2 separate regions of the Homo sapiens genome follow, and region 1 is linked to region 2. Evidence: promoter capture Hi-C in 16 types of primary human blood cells and fetal thymus (Javierre and others, 2016). All regions are on one chromosome and are shown on one strand. The core of a region is centred on a gene start or on the middle of the fragment in contact, and the rest is flanking DNA. Distances in the headings are between cores, read along the strand shown. Region 1 holds the start of UGT1A1 (UDP glucuronosyltransferase family 1 member A1). Region 2 holds the start of UGT1A6 (UDP glucuronosyltransferase family 1 member A6).

Region 1 (4,887 bases), core at 1,476-3,975, 67 kb after region 2:
TATATATATATATATATGTATATATGATATAGCTATAGTCTAATAGCAAGGACAGATATGCAAACTGCTAAAAGATACAAGGCAGAACAGAACAAAATGCTGTTTTTCTGGGATTTTGGAAATTCAAGGAATTCAAGGGATTCAAGGAAGGTGGCTTTGCTTCCCGGGAGGGTCCTGTAGATGATCTACAGGGCACTGGACATGTTTATGTTGCTCCTTTAGTAATAAGCCTGTCATTCTGATTTGATGAAAGGAGATGAAAGGAGCTGGTAGTGTGTCTGATGGTGGCCTACTAACTTATGTCTTCAGCTTAAAAAGAAAGTAGCTTCAAAAGGGTTCCAGAAACACTTTCCATGGACGTGTCACTCTTTAGCAGCCCCCAAAGCAAGACCATCATATTGCTGCCCTGCTGTGTGATTTCTCAGCCCCTAGAGCACCATCCCCTGTAATTGCCTGGTCATGAGTTTGTCTCTGTCTACCTGACCCCTCCTTTCAGGCAAGGACCATTTCTAACTTGACTTTCTGGGCCTAGTTCCTAGCATAGTGACTGCCATCCAGTAGGGCTCACACGTTCCATAAATATTTGGCAGATGAGGGAATTAGCAATGGGTTCTGCTTTGGTTTCAGAGCAGATATTAATTGGATTGCTTAGTAGTGGTTCTCTGTTGTAATTCATGAGCATGAATGTGGATTGCCCACTATTCAGATTAGTAAGTATTTCTTGGTCAAGGGCAGAGCTGTGGCCACAAACCATCCAGGTACACAGCAGAAGCAGCCTCAAAAAGCTTGGAAGCTCTGCATGATGCAGGAAAGTCATAAAATCATTACAGTGGTGACTTATGTGTTTATAGCCCCTTTACTGTCTATAATCTGCAAATGAACTCACACAGCATTGGGACTTTGGAAGAATTATCACCCTTAAGGTTTAAATTAAACTGTGAATTTCAGAATTTCTAATAAGGACACAACAAAGAGTGAAAGCATTGCTATGTCTATTCTGCTTGCCCAGAATCTTGGTCCTAAAAAATGAAGAGTGTTTGGGTGTGGGGAGGAGCTTCAGTGTGCATGTGCATGCAAAGTACCTACTCTAAGGAGAAGAATGAGAGGGTACCCTAATTACCTGTTAATATGTCCCATAGGACACCAAAACTCTAGTTAGCTGTTTCTCTATGATCCTCTAAGCACATCCCCAAGTATGGCTGGCCAGTGATGTGTATGGTTCAAATGTTGGGATCTGTGCAGTTATCTTGGAATTGTATAGTACAGCAGTATATCCCCCCCAAAAAGAGTGTAATACTTCCAATTCTGGCTGCACAATACTTGCCCCATAGTCCATGGTCAATAAATACAAATTTGAGTTGTTTTTGCTCATCTTTCCCTTTTGACTTCAAATCAGTCATCAGAATTTCCCCAAATGCCTTTCCCCTGGATCTTGGGCCAGTGGAATGAGTACAATTTAACTTAATTGAATTTGCTTATCTATTTGGTTTCCTGTTGTGAACAAAAGTTCTCTGAAAAGGAATTTGGAAGAAAGAGACTTTGTTCTAGTGAACAGTTTGCAAACCAGGGAGTTACAGCCTCTGGTACGCAATGAAGGTGAGTTCCACAGAACACAAGGCAGGCAGGTTTCACGGCAAAAAGTTCCTTCCCAGGTTCCCAATCAGGTCCATTTATGCAAATGAAGGATGGAAACTTGCTTAGTTCTTATTGGTCACTGCAGCTGCATTCTGATTGGTTGATGAAGCTGAGCCCTGAGTGGCTGAGGTGGGTGAGCTTTAATTGGTTGGTTCAGGTGAGCGCTGAAAATCTCAACTATAAAAAGGTACAGGTTTTCAGGATACTCAGAGTAACCGTGTGACCTGTAGTAAGCAAAGGGCCAGTTGGCTCTATTTTAAATCCAGGCCCAGTTAGCCACTCAAGATCTATCTTACAGGACTGGCTCTTTCAGGTTCACACTAATAAAGGCCTGTCCTTGGGGAAGACTTCTGTTCACATGCGCTCCAGTGAATTTCCCTTTCTGGTCATTCTCTACCCCAGCACGCCCCCCACCCCCGACCCGCCCCACCCACCCACCTGTTCATTTCCTTCTTAGCATGCTTCACGATTTCTAAGTTCCTGCTCATGTGTTTAAATTGTGAGTCTGGCTCACCTCATGGCGCGTGCTCGTGTGGTGGGCTCTGCTGCAGCCTCAAGACCCCACACTGTGCTGGACTCAATAAATATTGTTGGACGAAGGAATGAAACACATGATACAAGTGAGCAGGCAGTACCGGGGGAGCTGTGGAGTGGGCACTCTTACAGGTTTCCATGGCGAAAGCGGGGGTACAGTTGTGTTCTTTTCTTTCTAAAAGGCTTTCTAAAAAGCCTTCTGTTTAATTTCTGGAAAAGAAGCCTAACTTGTTCACTACATAGTCGTCCTTCTTCCTCTCTGGTAACACTTGTTGGTCTGTGGAAATACTAATTTAATGGATCCTGAGGTTCTGGAAGTACTTTGCTGTGTTCACTCAAGAATGTGATTTGAGTATGAAATTCCAGCCAGTTCAACTGTTGTTGCCTATTAAGAAACCTAATAAAGCTCCACCTTCTTTATCTCTGAAAGTGAACTCCCTGCTACCTTTGTGGACTGACAGCTTTTTATAGTCACGTGACACAGTCAAACATTAACTTGGTGTATCGATTGGTTTTTGCCATATATATATATATAAGTAGGAGAGGGCGAACCTCTGGCAGGAGCAAAGGCGCCATGGCTGTGGAGTCCCAGGGCGGACGCCCACTTGTCCTGGGCCTGCTGCTGTGTGTGCTGGGCCCAGTGGTGTCCCATGCTGGGAAGATACTGTTGATCCCAGTGGATGGCAGCCACTGGCTGAGCATGCTTGGGGCCATCCAGCAGCTGCAGCAGAGGGGACATGAAATAGTTGTCCTAGCACCTGACGCCTCGTTGTACATCAGAGACGGAGCATTTTACACCTTGAAGACGTACCCTGTGCCATTCCAAAGGGAGGATGTGAAAGAGTCTTTTGTTAGTCTCGGGCATAATGTTTTTGAGAATGATTCTTTCCTGCAGCGTGTGATCAAAACATACAAGAAAATAAAAAAGGACTCTGCTATGCTTTTGTCTGGCTGTTCCCACTTACTGCACAACAAGGAGCTCATGGCCTCCCTGGCAGAAAGCAGCTTTGATGTCATGCTGACGGACCCTTTCCTTCCTTGCAGCCCCATCGTGGCCCAGTACCTGTCTCTGCCCACTGTATTCTTCTTGCATGCACTGCCATGCAGCCTGGAATTTGAGGCTACCCAGTGCCCCAACCCATTCTCCTACGTGCCCAGGCCTCTCTCCTCTCATTCAGATCACATGACCTTCCTGCAGCGGGTGAAGAACATGCTCATTGCCTTTTCACAGAACTTTCTGTGCGACGTGGTTTATTCCCCGTATGCAACCCTTGCCTCAGAATTCCTTCAGAGAGAGGTGACTGTCCAGGACCTATTGAGCTCTGCATCTGTCTGGCTGTTTAGAAGTGACTTTGTGAAGGATTACCCTAGGCCCATCATGCCCAATATGGTTTTTGTTGGTGGAATCAACTGCCTTCACCAAAATCCACTATCCCAGGTGTGTATTGGAGTGGGACTTTTACATGCGTATATTCTTTCAGATGTATTACTTTGGATCGATTAACTAGCCCCAGATATATGCTGAGCAAGCATTCTGAGATAATTTAAAATGCCCTCTTTTGTTAATTTTTGACTCCTAGGTTTGAGTCTGTCTTTGGCATCATCTTCTGGATGATTTCTTGGTATCTGAGATTTCGGGAAAGCATTCCTTGGACATTTTACTCTGTGTGCTCCAGTGGATAGTAATCAATTAGAAACAACAAGCTGTTAAATGCCATAGGCACAGAATGCTGGGTTTGGGGCACCCTGCAGAAAACTCAGTTGAAGCCTGCACCTTGCCCTGGATTCAGTCAGGCAGGCAATGTTCAGGACTGATGAAATCATTCTTTGATGATGATAGATCCTGGAAATGAAAGTTGCCTTTGTGACCCTGGTTAAAGCTCCAGTTTCTAAATATTCTGATAAGAAGCTAAATCCTGCAGTCCGTTCTCTTCTAATGAGTGAATCACCAGACAGTCAGGTTCTGACATGATACAGAAAGGTTGTAGGTTTCATTCTCAAGCTATTAGGTTTATTTTTCCCCTACAGAGTTTGAAGTATGCAAAAAGTAGCATTCACATCCTCATCGAAATCTCAGCAGAGGATAGAAAAGAACAGGAGAGGCTCCTTCAGATGGAGCGTTAGGGAATTACTCTTTGAGGAGGTGACATTTCAGAGAGCGTTCATTCACTTATCCTGCAAAGATTGGCTGAGGATCTACTGGCAGCCCAGGCACTTCCCAGGTGCTGCGTCTGGCTCCCATTAAGGGGACTGATATCACCTTCGGAGGTGACCTTATTTCCACTATACCTCCAATGTGATTTGTATTTTATTTTTTTTAATTTTCTGTGCATTTTCCTTCATAGCACATCAAATATGGCAGCCATTTCACTTAGATAGTTGTTGATTGTCCGCTTCACATCATGAGCCATGTGGGGACCTGTGTGACTTTGCATTAATCACATCCACTGTATGCGGCGTCCTCAACACCTGCCAATGGGTCTGCATGTATTTGGCGCCCCATAAATCTCAGCACCTAAGGCACAGAATAGGCACCCACCGAATATGTGTTACATTAATGAATGAGAAGAAAGGTGCCAACCGAGGTCTAGTTAATGGGTCGAGAGTAATCCACAATAGCTCTTTTTAGTTCTTTGTACTCCAGCTATTACATACCAATATGTATATAGAAACATATGTAAAATTTTTTGGTTGCTTTTTCTACAAAATAGAGTAACA
Region 2 (4,934 bases), core at 2,038-4,537:
TTAAAATTCGGGGTTAGCAGAAAAGAATGTTTGCTCTTGCTCATGAGTGTGACTTCCTCCAAGAACAAAGAATGGCTGTCAGAGTTCAGTCGTTATTTCCCCTTATCTGAGGTCTGCCTGCCAAAGAATCCATTTGGTGGGAGTCCAGGTTTCTGAAAAACAACTCGGGGACATATGTTATGATGTGATCTGTAGTTTCTATAGGAAACCAAACATCTCTGGACTCTAACTTTCTTGGATATTGTTTTAGGCTACTATTACCTTCTTGCTTATCAAGTGCCTTATTTATTTCTCAGGGCCAGGTAGGTGCCTGGAATTTCCTTCGAAAGAACCCAAGATTTTCCTTTATTTCCATGCTTGGAGGAACCCACAGGCCCCTAAAAGGGATTCTCACTTCATCTCACCATTTTGGACCTTCCTCAAGATCTGGGCCCAGAGCATTCTGACTTCTGCAGCCCCACCTCACAGCCTATCAAATAGATTAAATTGCTCCTGCATCTTATGTCACATATGTCTTTGTAACTTGGTGAGCTAATCTGTAGTGGATTCATTGACATGTAGTTATGTTTTTATAGCCATTTCATAAAATATTCATAAATTCAATGTTTGCCATTTTAGTATTCTAGATTCAGCAAATTTCTTATTTTAAGTCTCAAACATTTTGCAGGTCCTTTGAAATCTTGCAGGTGGGTCCTGGCTCCATTACTTATGGGTCGTAGGTCATACAAGGGTCTGAAAGAGTTAGCACCTTAGAAGCAAACCTCTCCATAGGGTCCACGTTTCCAGACCTTCCTATTCCCAACATGAAATTACCTTCATGCACATCTTTGGGTCTCTCCTCTATTCAAAATGCCAGCTATCCTCCATTTACTTTTTGGGAAATCTGCTCTTGCCAACAGAGATTTGTTTTATCTTAGGATCTACTTCTTTCACCCCACTGGAATATGTCCCAAGCCTGAGTCATTCAGCCTGCAGCAATCCCTGAGAAAAAAAAAAAATCGGCCTTTGCCTGGACACTCAAGTGATACCTGAGGACACCTTGACTCCTACAGCACCAACCAGGGCAGGCCTGGGTCTCCAGCGGAGCTACTCTTTAGGGATCGTCATTATGACGAACAGACATGCCAGATTCCTCTGGCTAGTGTCCAGTGCAGACATACACACACACACACATACACACACACACACACACACACACCATTCTTAGTACAGTCAAAGCTCACAGGAGAAAGAAAAATGTTTTCTAATACCTTCTTAATTTGCAAGAAGGTGTTAGGAATTCAAGGGATGGTATGCATAGTGATGTTAGTTTCATTTCTTCAGCTCCTTCCTCCAACTCATGTTCTGTAGGGACTTCTGGGACTAAGAACAGGACCCACATATGAGCAACAGGATTTTCAGAGCAAGGCTGTGGTTGGAAGGGCTCAGACCAACGTCCACAGCAGAGTGGAGGTCTAGTATAAAGAATGTGAAGTTTGTAGCATCTCTTGATCCCGCTATTCCTACATGCTTGCTTAAGCCATTCTTCCTCTAGATGAACTGTTCTTTGAAGGAAACCTGCCTAATGTCTGCCTGCTCAAGAAGGTGGACCTGAGCTCTGTTCCCTTTGCAACCTTCCTGGAGTCTTATTGCTATCTAGATGAACTCAAAGCAAGATGCTGCCGCCCCCATGACTTTGATCATTGTAAGCTGCCAATCCTCTTGGGAGGCTGCTCCCAGCTTGGACTGAGCTGAGTCTTCGCATGCCTTGAACAATGAATTTGCATCCTGGTTATGTTCCCCATGGGGGCCAGCCCTGTCCTTGGAGTGGCCCCTCTAATCATGTTGCTCAGGCTTCTTCTCCCTTCCTGGGCCCCAGAACACCTCCGGTGCCAAACTTGTGGGTGGGAACAGGAACTCGCGTGCCAGCCAGGTGTGCATGACTAGCTCTGGGCAAGTCTGTTCTAGTAATTCAAGGTACCACCTCTCACTGGGACAGCCTAGTTTCTACACAGGTCTTGCTCTGGGACCGCCCTCAGCAGTGTGGTTAGCAGGCAGGGCCAGTGTGACCCTCCCTTTCTGGGCCTCAGTTGAGAAACCTGAAGCTCAGGAGAGGAGTCACTCCCCTGGCAGATGGGTGGCTGGGCCAGAAGCAGATACCAGGCTTTCTGACTCCTGCTCTAGGATTCTCACCACGTACTGGCTAGACTTATACTTCTCAAATCTTAATTTCCTAAAGGCAAGTAACAGTTTGAATGTTGTTATATTGTGATGTATAATAAGAAATATATGTTTGTCTTTGTTTCCTGGACACAGCTCCTGAAACCATAAGTGGTGGGAGCGATAAACGTGAACAAAGAATCTTTTGTTATTCAAAACAGATCCCTTTCGATCACACCTAAGTTTATGTAAAGGAGATGTAAAGTCTCTAAGGATGAGGGCTAGTTGCCAGGGAACAAAACCCTTGCGATTAGAGGGAAGAAAGGAGAGAGAGATTGAAGATTGATTTGATCACCGATGGGCAACAATCTAATCAATCATGCCTACTATGTATGGAAGCCTACATAAAAACTCAGAAGGGCAGGGTTCAGAGAGCTTTCAGGTTGCTGAAGGTGTGGAGGGTGGGGCACCCAGAGATGGCAGATGGGGCTCCATGGCCATACCCCCATATCTTGTTCTTTGTACTTTTTCCTCTGGCTATTCATCCGTATTGTTTGCAATATCCTTTGTAATAAACCAAACCTAGTAAATAAACTGTTTTCTTCAGTTCTGTGAGCCATTCTAGCAAATGATTGACTCCAAGAAAGAGGGTGTGTGAACCTCTGATTTTTGCCAAGTCAGACAGAAGTTGTGGGTAACCTGGGGACCTACTACTTGCAATTGGTGTCTGAAGTGAGGGCAGTCTTGTAGGACTGAGCCCTTAACCTGTGGGGTCCGTGCTAACTCAGAATTCAGTTCAGAATGGAATTGAATTGTAGGATACCCAGCTGGTGTTAGAGAATAGGTCCGTGTGCAAGAAAAATTCCCGCACATCATGGACATAACAGACAACGTCAATGATGAGGAATCCAGCAAGTTCGGGATAGAGAATTGGCAGGGGGTCCTCAGGGGTCTCTCCAAGTCATCTTCAAAGTGTTGCTATAACTTTTCAGAGAGGGAGAAGCAGACTTGTGGAGCTGAAGAGAAACACCCAGAAGCTCAGGTGAAAGCTGACACGGCCATAGTTGGTTCATATTAACCATGTGATTAAAATGGTTAAATATTAATTTGGGTTCTTACATATCAAAGGGTAAAATTCAGAGCAAGGGAGAGGTAGACAGGACCTGTGAAAAGCAGTGGTTAGTTTAGGGAAAATACCTAGGAGCCCTGTGATTTGGAGAGTGAAAACTCTTTATTACCGTTGTTACTTTAACTCTTTCCAGGATGGCCTGCCTCCTTCGCTCATTTCAGAGAATTTCTGCAGGGGTTTTCTTCTTAGCACTTTGGGGCATGGTTGTAGGTGACAAGCTGCTGGTGGTCCCTCAGGACGGAAGCCACTGGCTTAGTATGAAGGATATAGTTGAGGTTCTCAGTGACCGGGGTCATGAGATTGTAGTGGTGGTGCCTGAAGTTAATTTGCTTTTGAAAGAATCCAAATACTACACAAGAAAAATCTATCCAGTGCCGTATGACCAAGAAGAGCTGAAGAACCGTTACCAATCATTTGGAAACAATCACTTTGCTGAGCGATCATTCCTAACTGCTCCTCAGACAGAGTACAGGAATAACATGATTGTTATTGGCCTGTACTTCATCAACTGCCAGAGCCTCCTGCAGGACAGGGACACCCTGAACTTCTTTAAGGAGAGCAAGTTTGATGCTCTTTTCACAGACCCAGCCTTACCCTGTGGGGTGATCCTGGCTGAGTATTTGGGCCTACCATCTGTGTACCTCTTCAGGGGTTTTCCGTGTTCCCTGGAGCATACATTCAGCAGAAGCCCAGACCCTGTGTCCTACATTCCCAGGTGCTACACAAAGTTTTCAGACCACATGACTTTTTCCCAACGAGTGGCCAACTTCCTTGTTAATTTGTTGGAGCCCTATCTATTTTATTGTCTGTTTTCAAAGTATGAAGAACTCGCATCAGCTGTCCTCAAGAGAGATGTGGATATAATCACCTTATATCAGAAGGTCTCTGTTTGGCTGTTAAGATATGACTTTGTGCTTGAATATCCTAGGCCGGTCATGCCCAACATGGTCTTCATTGGAGGTATCAACTGTAAGAAGAGGAAAGACTTGTCTCAGGTTGGTGGGTTTATTTCTTTTGGACTGCCTTGTTTCTTCCAGGCTCTGTCCTCCCTCACTCATTTGGCTCCTTGAGCCGACTGTCCCTTGGAGGATTTCCTGGAGAAACGGTGGGGGGAAGTGATACCCGGCTCGGAGCAGCGGGAACACATAGGAGACCTGAGGCTGAAGTGATACAGAGGCATTCGGATGAAGACAGGGCTCATGCTTGGCAAGAGTAGGAGATTTGCTTAGTTGGATAATCTGGGACAGTCACATACTCATTGAATGAGCCTTAGAAATGTCCCAGTTCAAACAGAGGTGAAGGCTTGACTAAGGGAACAGGTCCAGGTTAAAATCCATTTTCCCAACTCTGTCCCATGCTTTGTCTCTGGACCTTGAGCCAGGGACCAGCGAACTACAGCCTGTGAGCCCAATCTGCCCAAAGGCCTGTTTTTTGTTTTTTTTTTTCCTTTTATGTTGAGACCTGTTTTTATATGGCCCAGAGCTAAGAATGGTTTTTGTAGTTTTAAAACAATTTAACAATGAAGAATATGTGCCACAGAAGTATTTGGTCTGCAAAGCCTACACATTTACTGACTGGCCTTTTCAGCAAAAGGGGTATGGCCTCTGACCTAAGACAAGTGTTTACAGATGCCCTCCTGACATGTAGGAAAAGGGCCCAGAGTTAC

Evidence for each region. Contacts are between HindIII fragments. The CHiCAGO score rates a contact against its expected background, and 5 or more counts as called.
Region 1: a contact is called between the fragment with the promoter of UGT1A1 here and the fragment with the promoter of UGT1A6 in region 2, in 1 of 17 cell types (neutrophils). The highest score is 8.2, in neutrophils.

What each region holds. Positions count from the first base shown.
Region 1 is chr2:233,757,545-233,762,431 of GRCh38, forward strand. It overlaps UGT1A1 (UDP glucuronosyltransferase family 1 member A1), which reads left to right and starts at 2,726. Exons shown (of 5, transcript NM_000463.3): 1 at 2,726-3,607. The coding sequence starts at 2,744. All of the region lies in intron 1 of UGT1A8 (UDP glucuronosyltransferase family 1 member A8), which reads left to right. The region is part of intron 1 of UGT1A10 (UDP glucuronosyltransferase family 1 member A10); the gene reads left to right. The region is part of intron 1 of UGT1A9 (UDP glucuronosyltransferase family 1 member A9); the gene reads left to right. It also overlaps UGT1A7, UGT1A6, UGT1A5, UGT1A4, UGT1A3 and UGT1A. RefSeq lists a silencer at 2,163-2,337. The HindIII fragment of the contact is 5,043 bases long and covers 784-4,887 here.
Region 2 is chr2:233,689,603-233,694,536 of GRCh38, forward strand. It overlaps UGT1A6 (UDP glucuronosyltransferase family 1 member A6), which reads left to right and starts at 3,288. Exons shown (of 5, transcript NM_001072.4): 1 at 3,288-4,263. The coding sequence starts at 3,403. All of the region lies in intron 1 of UGT1A8 (UDP glucuronosyltransferase family 1 member A8), which reads left to right. All of the region lies in intron 1 of UGT1A10 (UDP glucuronosyltransferase family 1 member A10), which reads left to right. All of the region lies in intron 1 of UGT1A9 (UDP glucuronosyltransferase family 1 member A9), which reads left to right. It also overlaps UGT1A7 and UGT1A. RefSeq lists enhancers at 1,426-2,033, 2,034-2,640. The HindIII fragment of the contact is 26,798 bases long and covers 1-4,934 here.